Linked DNA regions of Homo sapiens: regions 2, 3 and 4 are each linked to region 1. The links are contacts of gene promoters, found by promoter capture Hi-C in blood cells and fetal thymus (Javierre and others, 2016). All regions are on one chromosome and are shown on one strand. The core of a region is centred on a gene start or on the middle of the fragment in contact, and the rest is flanking DNA. Distances in the headings are between cores, read along the strand shown.

Region 1 (3,474 bases), core at 975-3,474:
GGGTGGGGGAGGGGTATGAGGGGAGAGAGAAATCAGAGTAGATAGGAAAGGAGACAGAGGCTGGAGGAGGTTGGGCAGGAGTGTGTGCGCACGTGTGTGTGAATATGCTGAGTGTATCTCACCTGCCCGTTCTCAGCCACAGCCACACGTATGTGAGCTGTGCCTGCGTCTTCCTATGTAACTTGCCTGGTGCTGCGTTCTGTCTATGGCCGCCTGCCAAACTTGTGCTTTTTTTTTTTTTTTTTTTTGAGATGGAGTCTCACTCTGTCGCTTGGGCCGGAGTGCAGTGGCGCGATCTTGGCTCACTGCAACCTCCGCCTTCCAGGTTCAAGCAATTCTCTTGCCTCAGCCTCCCGAGTAGCTGGGATTACAGGAACCCGCCACCACGCCCAGCTAATTTTTTTTGTATTTTTAGTAGAGACGGGGTTTCGCCACGTTGGCCAGGCTGGTCTCGAACTACTGACCTCATGATTCACTCACCTTGGCCTCCCAAAGTGCTGGGATTACAGGCATGAACCACTGCACCCGGCCCAACTCATACCTTTTTTTTTTTTTTTTTTTTGGCAACCGTGTGCATTGGTACTGTCTGTCGGTGCAGTTCATCTATATGTTGTTGTGTGTGTGTGTTGCTTGGGTGTTTGTCTCCTTTGTAATGGTCGTGGGTGACAAGTGTGTCAGAGTACTTGTCCCTCCTATATGTGTATCTATGCGCACGTATCTTTCTTTGTGTGTCTGCTGCTGTATTTGTGTCTCTTCTTAGCGAGTGGCTGCAGGTATGTGTGCCCTCGGGGTGTTTCTTCTGGTGCCATGGTATGAGTACTATCTGGTTCTCTTGTTTTTTCCTTGTGTAGCTTTCAGTGTGGTTTCTGGATTTTTTCTTTGCAACGATAGTAAGCGTACTCTGCATTCCTGTGCTTTGTGTTTGTGTGCAGGTATATGCTTTCCCTATATGTTTCTTTTCTGACTTGATTTGTGACTAGCTGTGTGTGTACACGGCTGTGTGCAGCCATTTGCTGAAATGCAGTTGTGTGTGTGTGTGTGTGTGAGAGAGAGAGAGAGAGGAGAGAGAGAGAGAAGGAGACTATGGCTTTTCTGTTTGTACAAAAATCATGTCAGCCTATGAGTGCCTCTCTCTGTGACTGGAGCTGTATGTGGTTACATGTGGTCACAAGTGCACATTCAAGTTCACATACACAGAGATATCATTTTAGGGCTTGAACCTGGAAGTTTGCCTCCAGGGTCATCTGAACCTGGATTCAGGTTCAGATCCAGGGCCATCTGAACCTGGATCGTGTGTGTGGGAAAGACCCAGGACCCACACACAATGTCATCAGCTGTGTGTAATTGTGTGCTCTGTGTGTGGCTGTGAATCTGTGTGTGTGATTTGCCTGTTGATTGTCTTTGGCATGGCTGTGGGTCCACGGGCGGTGAGGTTCAGGAGTCTCGAGTGTCTGGAAATCGGCACAAGCCTATCCCTGTGTTAGTCTGTGCTCTCTGTGAGCGGCTCTGAGCCTGTCGGTATTGATAGCTGTAAGACTATCGTCACTCTGTGTGGCCACGTGTGTGACTGTCCCATGAGCCATTGCTCTTAACGTGCAGTGGTGAGTCTGTGTGTGTTCATGTCTGTCAGTCTTTATTCTCTTGTGTGGCTGTGAGTCTTTGTGCACCTCTGTGAGTGATGGCGAGTTGGCCCCCGTATCTGAGCCCCTTGATGGGGCTGTGATGGGTCCTGTTGTGTAGCTGCGATTCCTGAGTGTGCAGGAGTCTCTCTCCCGCTGTGGGGAAGTAAACGCCCCATCCCTTGTCCTCCTCCAACTGTGGGTGGGGTGAGGGCATCTAGGCCAGCTTTGAAGCCCCAGCCAGCTCCTGGCCTTTCCGGGAATTCTGTGTTCCCTGTCGGGGGTGGGCAGGCGGGCGAGGGGCCCAGACAGAGGCCTCTTGTCCACCTGGGCTTCAAGCAGCCCAGTCGAGGTGGTCCCAGACCCCAAGTCCACCCTGCCTGACATCCTGTAGCGGACACGTGGCTTGCCTGGGACAGGCATGCCTGTCATATGCCTGGAGGGGAGTGAACAGACGGACTCCCATAGAAGACAGACGGACAGACAGATAGTGGGACTTCTCAGGGCTTGGACAAGCCCCACCCCACGCTTGGGGTGGGGTCCAGGACTACAGTGCCCGCCCAGTTTGCGGACAGTGTGAGTTCACAGTCCACATTCCCCACCCAGCCACAAATGCCCTCCCTGCCTCCCTCTGGGGGCCCCCAAGATCTAGGGTCCTCTCGTGCCTAGGCTGTCTGCCTGAGGTCTGCCTGGAATAGCCTGGCTACTACCCCTGCACCTGTTCCCCTGCTGTCCCCAGGCCTCTCTGCCTGAATCTGCCTCTCTCTGCCTCTTTTCTCCTGTCCCTCCAGGAGTCTCTCTGCCTCAACCACTCTCTCTGCCCCTTCATCTCTCTGAGCTGGTGTGTCTGGTCCTACCCTCTGTTTGGGGAGCTGTCTGGCTCTGTCCCCCACCTCTTGGCCAGCCTGTGTCTCCTGTCTATGACTGAGCCCAATTGCCTGTTGCCTTTCTGCAGGTGTTTCCACGAGCCTATCCCTACCCACCTGTTTGTTTCTGAGTCTGCCTGTGTGTCCCTTTCTCCCTGTCTCTGCCTGTCTTCCAAGCTCCCCTAGCATCCCCTCCTCCCGCCCATCTGTCTTTCTGTCCCTTCTGTGGTCTGTCTGTTCCTGTGCTGTTTCTCATGCCTGCTTTCTTTGTAACTTCAGTTCTCCTACTCTCTCTCTGTCTCCTCTCTGCACCTTTTTCTGCCATCCATCCCATCCTGCTGTCCGTCTGCTCTGTGAGTCCATCCCCTCTGTCTGCCTGTCACTCTCTCTAGCTGTGGGTCTACACCCTCAATCTTTCAGGCCATTTCCCCCACCATCAACACACAAACAAACCGCTGTCTCCCTCCAAGTGGGTCCAGATAGGGGGCGCCCCTTCTCCACCTCTTCCCCCGCCCAGGGCCAGAAGGAGGGAAACGAAATTAAAATTAACATTTCTTCTCAGGAAAAAAAAAAAAGTACCGCTCCAGAGCAGGAGCCTAGGCAGCCGAGAGGGTGCCCGAACCTGAGTCTGAGTTGCGGCCACTTCAGGAGCTGAGAGGAGCAGGTAGGTGAGGAGGGAGCGTGGGCTGCGGGGATGGTGTTCCTGGGGGCCTGAGATATGAGTAGGGGTCCTGGGAGGGGGCTCGGGGTTCCTTGGAGACATTTTAGCACTAGTGGGGAATGGAATGGCGTGTATGGGGAGGTCCTTTTTGTACCCTGATCCCAGGAAGTGAATTCAGGTGTGGGTGGGAGGCTCCGGAGGGTGCTGGTGGTGGGGGATGGGACTCCTTGAGACCCTCCCTGTCCCAGGAACGGGATTCAGGACTTGGGAAAAGGATTTCCTGAGCCAGTTTGAGCTCTAATGGGGACCTTGAATGGGGGTTTCTGAG
Region 2 (3,474 bases), core at 448-2,947, 430 kb after region 1:
CCCAGCACTCTGGGAGGCCGAGGCGGGCGGATCATGAGGTCAGGAGATCGAGACCATCCTGGCTAACACAGTGAAACCCCATCTCTACTAAAAAATACAAAAAATTAGCCTGGCGTAGTGGCGGGCGCCTGTAGTCCCAGCTACTGGGGAGGCTGAGGCAGGAGAATGGCATGAACCCAGGAGGCGGAGCTTGCAGTGAGCCGAGATCACGCCACTGCACTCCAGCACTCCAGCCTGGACAACAGAGTGAGACTCCGTCTCAAAAAAAAAAAAAAAAAAAAGAAAAGAAAAAAAAGGTCTCCTCCAGAAATATTGATGGGAAGCTTTAGCCCTCATGTTGAATAGGTAAACCTCAACTTGTCCCGTCTGCCAGAAACAGAATTCTGATAAAAATACAAAGTGGGGCAAAGACAATGAGCCAACTCTGTTGTATTGACTAGTGAGTTTTGTATTTCTGTGTTTATGCCTGAATCGTGGCTAAAATTTTAGAATGAAACCTGTAAGATCTTTATTTGCATCTGCCTGTATGTTTATGTATTTATTTTATGCATATGTGATATTTTTCTACCTCTGGATGATACTATCAAATTAATTTATAAAATTCCTTAAAAACCCTAAAACTGTCAGAAAAAAAAAATCTGAACTTCTAATACTTCCAGTGTGGGGGAAAAAGTATTCTCTAAAACCTAACATAAATGTTTTAAAAATTCAATTTACTGCCGGGCGTGGTGGCTCACACCTGTAATCCCAGCACTTTGGGAGGCTAAGGCGGGTGGATCACCTGAGGTCAGGAGTTCAAGACCAGCCTGGTCAACGTGGTGAAACTCCATCTTTACTAAAAATACAAAATTAGCCGGGCGTGGTGGTGCATGCCTATAATCCCAGCTACTCGGGAGGCTGAGGCAGGAGAATCGCTTGAACCCAGGAGGCGGAAGTTGCGGTGAGCCATGAGCACACCACTGCACTCCAGCCTGGGCAACAAGAAGGAAATTCATCTAAAAAAAAAAAATTCAAGTTACCTAATTTAGGTAAATCTTTGGCAAACAAAATTAGCTTAATATTGTTGGCTTAATAAAAATAGCTATGTTTTATGAGTTATTACCATTAAGTATAACAGAAGTATACACTTCTTTCTACTTGGTATGTTCTTCCTAAATGTGTACAGGTTTACTAGTCGAATAAGCCAATATTGTATCAACTAGATTGTGAGATATATATTCATAAGCTTTGCTAGCCTGCTCTATGATAGACAGTTCATAGTTATCTACTTCCTAGTTTTCTCTGCAAAGTAAAAGTCATTAGTGGATAAAATTATAATCAATATATGTAAATGAAACTACTAGAAGCAATGGGGCAAAGATAAACAACTTTGTATGTAAGATATGCTCAGTATGTTTCCTCAACATTTTTCATAATTAAATCTTCAAGCATACAGAAGATACAAAGAATTGTTTGGTAAGTGCCAATATACCCTACACCCAGACTGTTACATGTTGTTAACCTGGCTTTATCTCATCTCTTTTCATCTATCCATGTTTCTATCTGTCCATCAATCCATGTTATTTTTTGGTGCAATTCAAAGTAAGTTGCAGATTTCAGTGCACTTCGCTTCTAGATAATTCAGCGTACATATCATTAACTAGAGTTCAATATTTACAGTTTTAAGTAAAATTGTATACAGTGAAATGTATAAATCTCAAGTGTATCATTCAAAGAATTTTGACAAATGTAAACCCCTATCAAAACATTAAACACGACCATCACCTGAGACAGTTCCCTCATGCCCTTTCCTTATCAATCCCTGCTGCCACCCCCTCCAGAGGCAAGCATTGTCCTGACTTTTCTCACCATAGATTAGTTTAGCCTCTTCTAGAAACTTCACATAAATCGAGCCATGCTGAGCTGGCTTGTGCCATTTCGCTGGGGCCAGCTGTTATCAGCACACCACTGATTGCAACCCAGAATTTTATACCTCAAGGCTGATCCCCTTCTGCTGCCAGACAGGAATGTGTTGTGCTAAAGTCTTCCAGCACAGTTTTACTTGATCCTCATGGGAATCCCACGTAAATGAGCCCTGGCTTCATTTTACAGATGGTGAAGGAGAGTCCCAGAGAGGGTAAAACTTTAGTTCATTGGAGATTGAGTTTTTCCATCAGTTTACTAAGCTTTATTGTTTGTTTGTTTTTGGTTTAGTTTTGTCTTTTACAGATGGGGTCTCACTATGTTGCTCAAGCTGGTCTTGAACTCCTGGTGCCTTGACCTCCCAAAGTGCTGGGATTACAGGCGTAAGCCACTATGTCCAGTTTAGCAAGCTTTAATTTTAATAGTCCGTTAGGTCTGTCTATCATTACAGGAGAGAGAGATGATAAAAATATTCTGTTTTAATATTTGGTCTTTGACCCCAGTTTCTGATACAAAGCTCTTAAGACCGTTGTAATTTCTTGTGTGATAGGAGTGTCTGACACAGAGCTTCTAAATCCCTTGGAATTTCCTGGGTGATAGAAGCATCTTTTGCTCTAATGAGGTGACCTCTTAATGTCCTCCTGGATAGCCTCAGGATGGGAGCTGGTTGCCAGGGGAATCAACCATGTGATTAGAAGGTTGGGACCTCCAGCCCCATCCCTCAACTCTGGGGCTGAAGGTTGAATTGATCATCAATGGCTAATGATGTAATCAATTACATCTAGGTAATGGAGCCTCTATAAAAACCCAAAAGGACAGGGCTTGGGGAGCTTCCAGATAGCTGGAAATGTGTGGGTTCTTGGAGGGTGGTGCTCTGGAGGCGGCATGGGAACTCCACACCCCTTCCCTCATGCCTTGCTCTATGCATCTTCGCTATCTGGCTGTTAATCTTCATCCTTCATTATATCCCTTATTAATAAACCAGTAAACATAAGTAAAGTGTTTGCCTGGGTTCTGTGAGCTGCTCTAGCAAATGAATTGAACCTCAGGGGGGTCGTGGGAATCCTGACTTACAGCCAGTTGGTAAGAAGTACAGGTCTCAATATGTGCTTGCAACTGGCATCTCAAATGGGAGACAGTCTTGTGAGACTGAGTCCTCAACTTGTGGGAGCTGACTCTGTCTCCAAGTAGATAGTCAGTAGTGGATTGAATTAGAGGACACCCAGCTCTTTATACCTGTGCTTTATGTTGACTTTTTCATATCCTTAGTTATTTAAGAGAATCAAGTTTTTTCACTTTTTAAAGAGCTATTTTTACAACCATGTTACCTCCTATATTTACTTTAAAATCACTTTAGTTAAATGGTAGCCAAGTATTGTTTATCAGTGACCCATGACCCTATTTAACCAAATTTTCAAGTATCCTAACAATTTTTGACATTTTGCCTTCCTCAAATCTAATCTTTTTTCTTTTTTCTTTTTGAGACAGAGTCTCAATCTGTCGCCCAGGCTGGAGTGCGGTGGCTCCATCTCCGGTCGCTGCAACCTCTGCCTCCCGGGTTCAAGCGATTTT
Region 3 (3,474 bases), core at 604-3,103, 410 kb after region 1:
CTCAACCTTTTTGTCTGTCTCCCCTCACTAGAATACAAACTCCTTCAGGGAAGGTATTTTTGCCAGGTTTTTTTTCCTGCTGTATCCCCAGTTCCTAGAATAGTGCTTGGTATTCGCTAGGTACTCAATAACTGCTTGCTGAGTGAATGAATGTTTATTTTCACTTAACAGTGTATCTTAAATATTGTGGCATATCAATTAATATAGATCTTCCTTGTTGCCTGCCTGCCTGCCTTCCTTCCTTCCTTCCTCCCTCCCTCCCTCCCTCCCTCTCTCTCTCTCTCTCTCTTTCTTTCTTTCTTTTTGAGACAGGGTTTCACCCCAGTTGCCCAGGCTAGAGTGCAGTGGCACTATCTTGCCTCACTGCAGTCTTGACCTCCCAGGCTCAGGTAATCCTCTCACCTCAGCCTCCCTAGTAGCTGGGACTATAGGTGTGTGCCACCACACCCGGCTAATTTTTTGTAGAGACAGGGTTTTGCCATGTTGCCCAGGCTGGTTGTTTGTTTGTTTTTGAGACAGAGTCTCAGTCTGTCGCCCAGGCTTGAGTGCAGTGGCACAGTCTCGGCTCACTGCATCCTCCGCCTCCTGGGTTCAAGCAAGTCTCCTGCCTCAGCCGCCTGAGTAGCTGGGACTACAGGCATGCACCACCATGCTCGGCTAATTTTTGTATTTTTAGTAGAGACGGGGTTTCGCCATGTTGGCCAGGCTGGTCTTGAATTCCTGACCTCAAGTGATCCACCTGCCCCTGCCTCCCCAAGGGCTGGGATTACAGGCGTGAGCCACCACATCTGGCCCCTTCTTTGTTGCTTTTTATAATTGCATATAGTATTCCCTTATGGAGATTGTAGCATTATTTATTCATCCAATCTCCCATGAGGTGGTTTCCATTCTTTTGCTATTATAAATAGTACTGTAGAGCAGTGTCTTCACACATGTCATTTGCTCACATAAGTGAATGTTTATGTAGAATAACTTCTAGAAACCAAATTGCGAGTCAGAGGATGTATACATTATAAATTTGGATAGATATTGCCAAATTAATTGCCTTCAAAATATACCATACACCACAGACAATTTGAGTATGCCTGCTTCTTGACATCTTCACTAACTTACCCTAAGTCACTGTGACTTATCCCTAGTCATAGCATTTGACCAGTGACTTATCAAACACCCATCTTTGATAATATGTAAGGGAAAAATGCTGTCTTGTCTTAGTTTGCATTTATCTTCATGTGAGTGAAGTTGAGCATCTTTTTACATGTTTAAAAAACATTTGCATTTTATTTTCTGTGAAATGATGGTCATGTCCCTTGACCATCGTATTAGTCTGTTCTCATGTCACTATAAAGAAATACCCAAGACTGGGTAATTTATAAAGGAGAGAGGTTTAATTGACTCACAGTTCCACGGGGGTGGGGAAGCCTCAGGAAACTTACAATCATGGTGGAAGGGGAAGCAAGGACCTTCTTCACATGGTGGCAGGAGAGAGAAGTGCCAGCAAGGGAAATGCCAGACGCTTATAATACCATTAGATCTTGTGAGAACTCACTCACTATTATGAGAACAGCATGGGGGAAACTGCCTCCATGATTCAATCACCTCCTTCACTTGACAAGTGGGGATTGCAATTCAAAATGAGATTTGGGTGGGGAAACAGAGTCAAACCATATCAACCATTTTTTAAAAAGTTATTGGTCTTTTTCTTCTTGCTTTGTAGGAGCTCTCTCTATACATGGAGGAAATTAACTCTTTGTCCATCCTATCTGTTATGTGTATATTTTTTCCCTAGTTAGTCATATCCTTTGAGTTTGTTTGATATATTTTGCCATGTAATACATAAAGTAGTCACATTTATCAGTGTTTTCATTTGTGGCATCTGGGTTTTGGGGCATGCTTAGAAGAGTCTTCTCCACTCAAAGATTATTTTTTAAAACCTCTCCTGTCTTTATTTTATAGTTTCTCTTTTTTCATTTAAATTTTTGTCATGAATTTATTTTTGTATATAGTGTGAGGTAGGGAATCCAGTTAATTTTTTTCTGATAGCTCTCCAGTTTTGAATAGTCTGTTTTTCCATTCCTGTTTAAAATGCTACCTTTATTATATATTAAATTTCCCATTTTTATTTGTATCTATTTCTAGACTGTCTGTTCTGTTCCACTAACTATTCTTGCTAATGGCAGGGTTTTACATTGTTTCTCTCATAAAGTATGCTGGGCAAAGTGCAAAGTAGGCATCCTACATGTACTGCTATGGTAAAAATGACCAGAACGAGCAGATTGTACAGGAATGTGCTGTTATAGGAACCAGTGACATTTGAGGATGTGGCTGTGGACTTCACGCAGGAAGAGTGGCAGCAGTTGAATCCTGCTCAGAAGACCCTGCATAGGGATGTGATGCTGGAGACCTATAATCACCTGGTCTCCGTGGGTAAGGGCAGATTCCCTGTGTACCAATGAATCAAATCCTCCTCATCCTTCCTTTAGTGCTGTCAATACCATGACCTTTATGATATTCCTTTAATAGAGTGTGTTCTTTTATAGTTTTGGTTTTTCATGTTTATACTTTTGTTATATCTAGAATTTATTTTTATGTTATGGTGTGAGTTAAGGATCCAACTTTGCTGGGAGGCCCCTGCAAGTGCTTCTCTTCATGAATTTCTGAGCTGCCAAGGCCAAAGCCACTACAATTTTCTCTTAACAGGGTGTTCAGGTATAAAACCAGATGTAATCTTTAAGTTGGAACATGGAAAGGACCCATGGATCATAGAGAGTGAGTTGTCAAGGTGGATCTACCCAGGTAAGTGAGAATTGGGTACATGGTCAAGCGGGCATCTTCTTCTTCCTTGACATCTCTGACATCCGTTACCTTTTTTCTTCCTTAAAATTTATCAGGCCTCCTTTATAACATTCATTCTACAACAGCCACCTTCCTAGTACCTCTGTTCATTGCCAACTGTTTTGTGTGTGTGTGTGTGTGTGTGTGTGTGTGTGTGTGTGTGTGTGTGTGTGTGTATTTGATTTTCCCTCTTTCTTCTTCCTTCAGACAGAGTGAAAGGCCTTGAATCTTCCCAGCAGATCATTTCTGGAGAACTTTTATTTCAAAGGGAGATACTAGAAAGAGCCCCAAAGGATAATTCATTGTACTCTGTTTTAAAAATCTGGCATATTGATAATCAGATGGATAGATATCAAGGAAATCAAGACAGAGTTTTGAGGCAGGTCACAGTCATCAGTCGTGAAACATTGACTGATGAGATGGGTTCCAAGTACAGTGCATTTGGGAAAATGTTCAATCGGTGCACAGACCTTGCTCCTTTAAGTCAAAAATTCCATAAGTTTGATTCATGTGAAAATAGCTTGAAGTCTAATTCAGACTTACTAAATTATAACAGGAGCTATGCAAGAAAGAACCCCACTAAGAGATTTAGATGTGGGAGACCACCTAAGTATAATGCTTCCTGTTCTGTGCCTGAGA
Region 4 (3,474 bases), core at 493-2,992, 350 kb before region 1:
TCGGCTGCAGGGCTGCCCCCACTCCAGCCCTCAACCACTCTGTCTTCTGGACTATCCCACAGCCCCCGCCCCATGCAAAATAATCACATGAGGCAGCCATGCAGAGGGGCCTGTGGTCTCCCTTTACCCAATCACAGAAGGGGTGTGTGTGTGGGGGGTGAGTGTGCACGTGTCGAAGGGTCTACCCAGGGCCCACCTGGTGGTGGACATAGGCCTGACAGTAGTAACACCAGGCTGACAGGTCGATGTAGCTGAGGACCAGCGGGTGTCCAGAATTTCCATGGTGTTGGAGCATGTGGCCATTGATGTAACGACCACAGTAGACCTGAGGTTGGGGGTGTGAGTGTCAGGTGGGGGTCAGCATCCCCCTGCAGTTTGCTCCCGGGCCAACCTCCGCCCCATCCCCTTCCTCTGCTCCATACCTGATAGCAAGAGAGACACACCCAATTCTCTTGGATTGTTCCACAGTCCCCACAAGGTTGGGTCACGTCTAGGCCTGCTGCAGGTATGGGGCATACTGCCACCAAATGGGGACACCAGGGCAGTGGTGTCACAGCATAAAATATGGCCTGGAGTGGGTGGGTGAAACTAGGTAAGCTGAAGACCCCATCTCCCCATTATATGTTTATTCATCACATGCTCCTACCTGGAGACACAAATTGGCAAGAGAAGGAAGCCACAGTCCCAGCCTCTCCCTGAGCTCACCTGATCAGTGAGGCCCCTAGATCCCTGCATCAGCATCGAATCAGCCATGTCCTGACCTCCAGCTGCCTCTCCTAGTAGGTTCTCCTCTCCTGGGGCCTGAGATTCTGAGGCCCCCTGGACACGCAGAAGTAAGAGATGTATCAGAGAAGCCCGATTCTTGCCCCTTCTTGCCCCTACCTGGGTGTGGTGAGCCTTACCTGAGATTCGCTGCCTAGCTCCAAGGTCCTGAGACTCCCAATCAGTGTACTGGGAGATATCTGGGGTGTAGTTCCCTGCACAGGTGAGGTTGGGGGGGTCTGGTGGTCTGTGCTCGAGGCTAGAGGAGTTTGGATCAGCTCGGTGCCCCCTGGAGCCTCCTCTGACGTAGTCTGGTCCAGTGTGGCTCCCTCCATGGCTGCCTCCGAGGTGGTCTGGGCCAGTGTAGCTCCTCCTACAGCCTCCTCTGAGGTAGTCTGGCCCAGCGTGGCTCCCCCAACAGCATCCTCTGAGGTGGTCTGGTCCAGAATGGCTCCTCCCACAGTCTCCTCTGAGGTGGTCTGGTCCGGAGTGGCTCCCCCGACAGCCTCCTCTGAGGTGGTCTGGCCCAGCATGGCTCCCCCAATGGCTGCCTCAGAAATGGTCTGGGCCAGAGTGGCTCCCCCTGTGGCTGCCTCTGAGGGCTGGTCCTGAGTGAGGGCCACCACAGCTGTCTCTGAGTTAGTCTGGCCTGGAGTGGACTCTTCCCCAAATGATGCCGAGGTGACTTTCCCCATGCCTGCTTCCAGAACCTTCTTTTCTCGTGTGGTCATCCGCTCAGCTAACCTAGGTTTGGCTGGTTGGGGTGCCTTCTTGGTGACCAACTTAGAACTGGAGGGTCCTTCTCTGTCTTCTACCTCTGGAACCAGGGAGGGAGATCCTTGAGTGTGGGTACTGTCACCCTTCCTGCCTCTGATCTCTGCCCCTCAGCCCCCTCCTTCCCTGGGTTCCCCCCATCACCCCCAAATCCACTCACTCATGACCCGTAAGCTGCGCCAGTATCTGCGATGGACTTGGATGGTCTCAGTGATTGAGGCCAGGGCCCCTGATAGTGGGGGCCGTGGCAGGGTCAGCAGGGGTGGTGGGTCTCCAAGGAGGGAGCGAGTGCAGGCAGCCATGGACTCTGAGATGGATGTCAGGTTATAGCCACCCTTTGTTAAGGAAAAGGGGAGGGAAAGGTATGGTGGGGGTTCATTGGGGAATTTGGAGGACAACATGTCCTGCCTCCCCAATCCTCCCTACTGAGCCCTGCAAGTCTGGAGAGGGAGGGGGAGTACTGAGAACAAGTGAACAGAACCCACACCTTTAAGATAGGCAGCACCCACTGTGTAAGGTGGTTGTTGTGGGGAGTAAATTGTGATGTAAAGTGCAAGATAACAATACTGATAAAAGCATTAGTAACAGCTGACATTTATTGTTTGCTGTGTGCCAGACCCGATTTTAAGTACTTCATGCATATTAACTCAATCCTCACAACCACAGGCGCTCAATCTATACAGGAACTTGCCTTCATGCCATACAGAAATCCGTCTTCACACTGTCCAGGAACCCCTGGCCTCACATCATACAGTAACCACTGACCTGACCTGCACAAGACGACTGCTGTGAACCCATACAAAAGCCCCTGCCCTGACCTAGTACAGGAACAACTGGACTCTTTCTCCACATGGACTCCTGTATTGACTTTTTTTACACTCTACAGGAATCCCAGTTGCTATTCTTTTTACAGATAAAGAAACTGAGGCTCAGAGTGGTTAGATGACTTGTCCGAGGTCATAACAGCTGAAGAGGCAGCACTGGGGTTTGAACTTGGGCTCTCTGATGGAGTCATCTGTGTTCTTAACTCCCACCGTGTCCTGTCACAAGCAGTACTGGGCACATAGTAAGTGCGACTTTTTGCAAGCCAATTAATTTCTCAGTGACTTATTTTCCTCATCTGTAAAGTGGTGAAAATAACAGCACAGGCTGGGCGCGGTGGCTCACCCCTATAATCCCAGCACTTTGGGAGGCCGAGGCGGGAAGGTTACCTGAGGTCAGGAGTTTGAGGCCAGCCTGGCCAACATGGTGAAACCCCCGTCTCTACTAAAAATACAAAAATTAGCCAGGCGTGGTGGCATGCGCCTGTAGTCCCAGCTACTCGGGAGGCTGAGGCATGAGAATTGCTTGCTCGAGCCTGGGAGATAGAGGCTGCAGTGAGCCGAGATAGCGCCATTGCACTCCAGCCTGGGTGACACGGCGAGACTCTGTCTCAAAAGGAAAAAAAAAAAAAAAAAAAAAAAGAGGCAGGTATGGTAGCTCATGCCTGTAATCCCAACACTTTGGGAGGCTGAGGCAGGTGGATCACGAGGTCAGGAGTTCAACACCAGCCTGGCCAACATGGTGAAACCCCGTCTCTACTAAAAATACAAAAAAATTAGCTGGGTGTGGTGGCAGGCACCTGTAATCCTAGCTACTCAGGAGGCTGAGGCAGAGAACTGCTTGAACCCAGTGAGCCACAATCGCACCACTGCACTCTAGCCTGGGCGACAGAGCAAGACAACGTCTCAAAAAAAAAAAGAAAAAGAAAAAGAAAATAAGAGCACAGAAGGTTGCTGAGTGGGTTAATATCTGAACAACGCATAACAGTAACCAGGGGCCAGGTGCGGTGGCTCATGCCTGTAATTCCAGCACTCTGGGAGGCTAAGGTGGGTGGATTTCTTGAGGCCAGGAGCTCAAGACCAGCCTGACCAACATGGTGAAACCCCATCTCTACTA

The links. The method cuts DNA at HindIII sites, captures the fragments that hold promoters and counts their contacts. A CHiCAGO score of 5 or more calls a contact.
Region 2: a fragment that was not itself captured here is called in contact with the fragment with the promoter of SLC38A5 in region 1 in 4 of 17 cell types (naive CD4 T cells, naive B cells, M1 macrophages and 1 more); the score reaches 6.4 in naive CD4 T cells.
Region 3: a fragment that was not itself captured here is called in contact with the fragment with the promoter of SLC38A5 in region 1 in 1 of 17 cell types (naive CD4 T cells); the score reaches 5.2 in naive CD4 T cells.
Region 4: a fragment that was not itself captured here is called in contact with the fragment with the promoter of SLC38A5 in region 1 in 1 of 17 cell types (neutrophils); the score reaches 5.7 in neutrophils.

Annotation. Positions count from the first base shown.
Region 1 is chrX:48,469,010-48,472,483 of GRCh38, reverse strand. It overlaps SLC38A5 (solute carrier family 38 member 5), which reads left to right and starts at 2,224. Exons shown (of 17, transcript NM_033518.4): 1 at 2,224-2,302; 2 at 3,048-3,149. The HindIII fragment of the contact is 10,592 bases long and covers 1-3,474 here.
Region 2 is chrX:48,041,731-48,045,204 of GRCh38, reverse strand. No RefSeq gene overlaps it. Among named protein-coding and RNA genes, the nearest start is that of ZNF630-AS1, 13 kb to the left of the region's middle. The HindIII fragment of the contact is 940 bases long and covers 1,228-2,167 here.
Region 3 is chrX:48,059,772-48,063,245 of GRCh38, reverse strand. ZNF630 (zinc finger protein 630) reads left to right here. Exons shown (of 5, transcript NM_001282201.2): 3 at 2,301-2,427; 4 at 2,701-2,796; 5 at 3,043-3,474. All of the region lies in intron 1 of ZNF630-AS1 (ZNF630 antisense RNA 1), which reads right to left. Among named protein-coding and RNA genes, the nearest start is that of ZNF630-AS1, 5.2 kb to the right of the region's middle. The HindIII fragment of the contact is 4,033 bases long and covers 1-3,474 here.
Region 4 is chrX:48,821,017-48,824,490 of GRCh38, reverse strand. It overlaps HDAC6 (histone deacetylase 6), which reads right to left. Exons shown (of 29, transcript NM_006044.4): 24 at 1,697-1,871; 25 at 903-1,579; 26 at 706-819; 27 at 423-569; 28 at 197-325. Among named protein-coding and RNA genes, the nearest start is that of ERAS, 3.8 kb to the left of the region's middle. The HindIII fragment of the contact is 4,474 bases long and covers 1-3,474 here.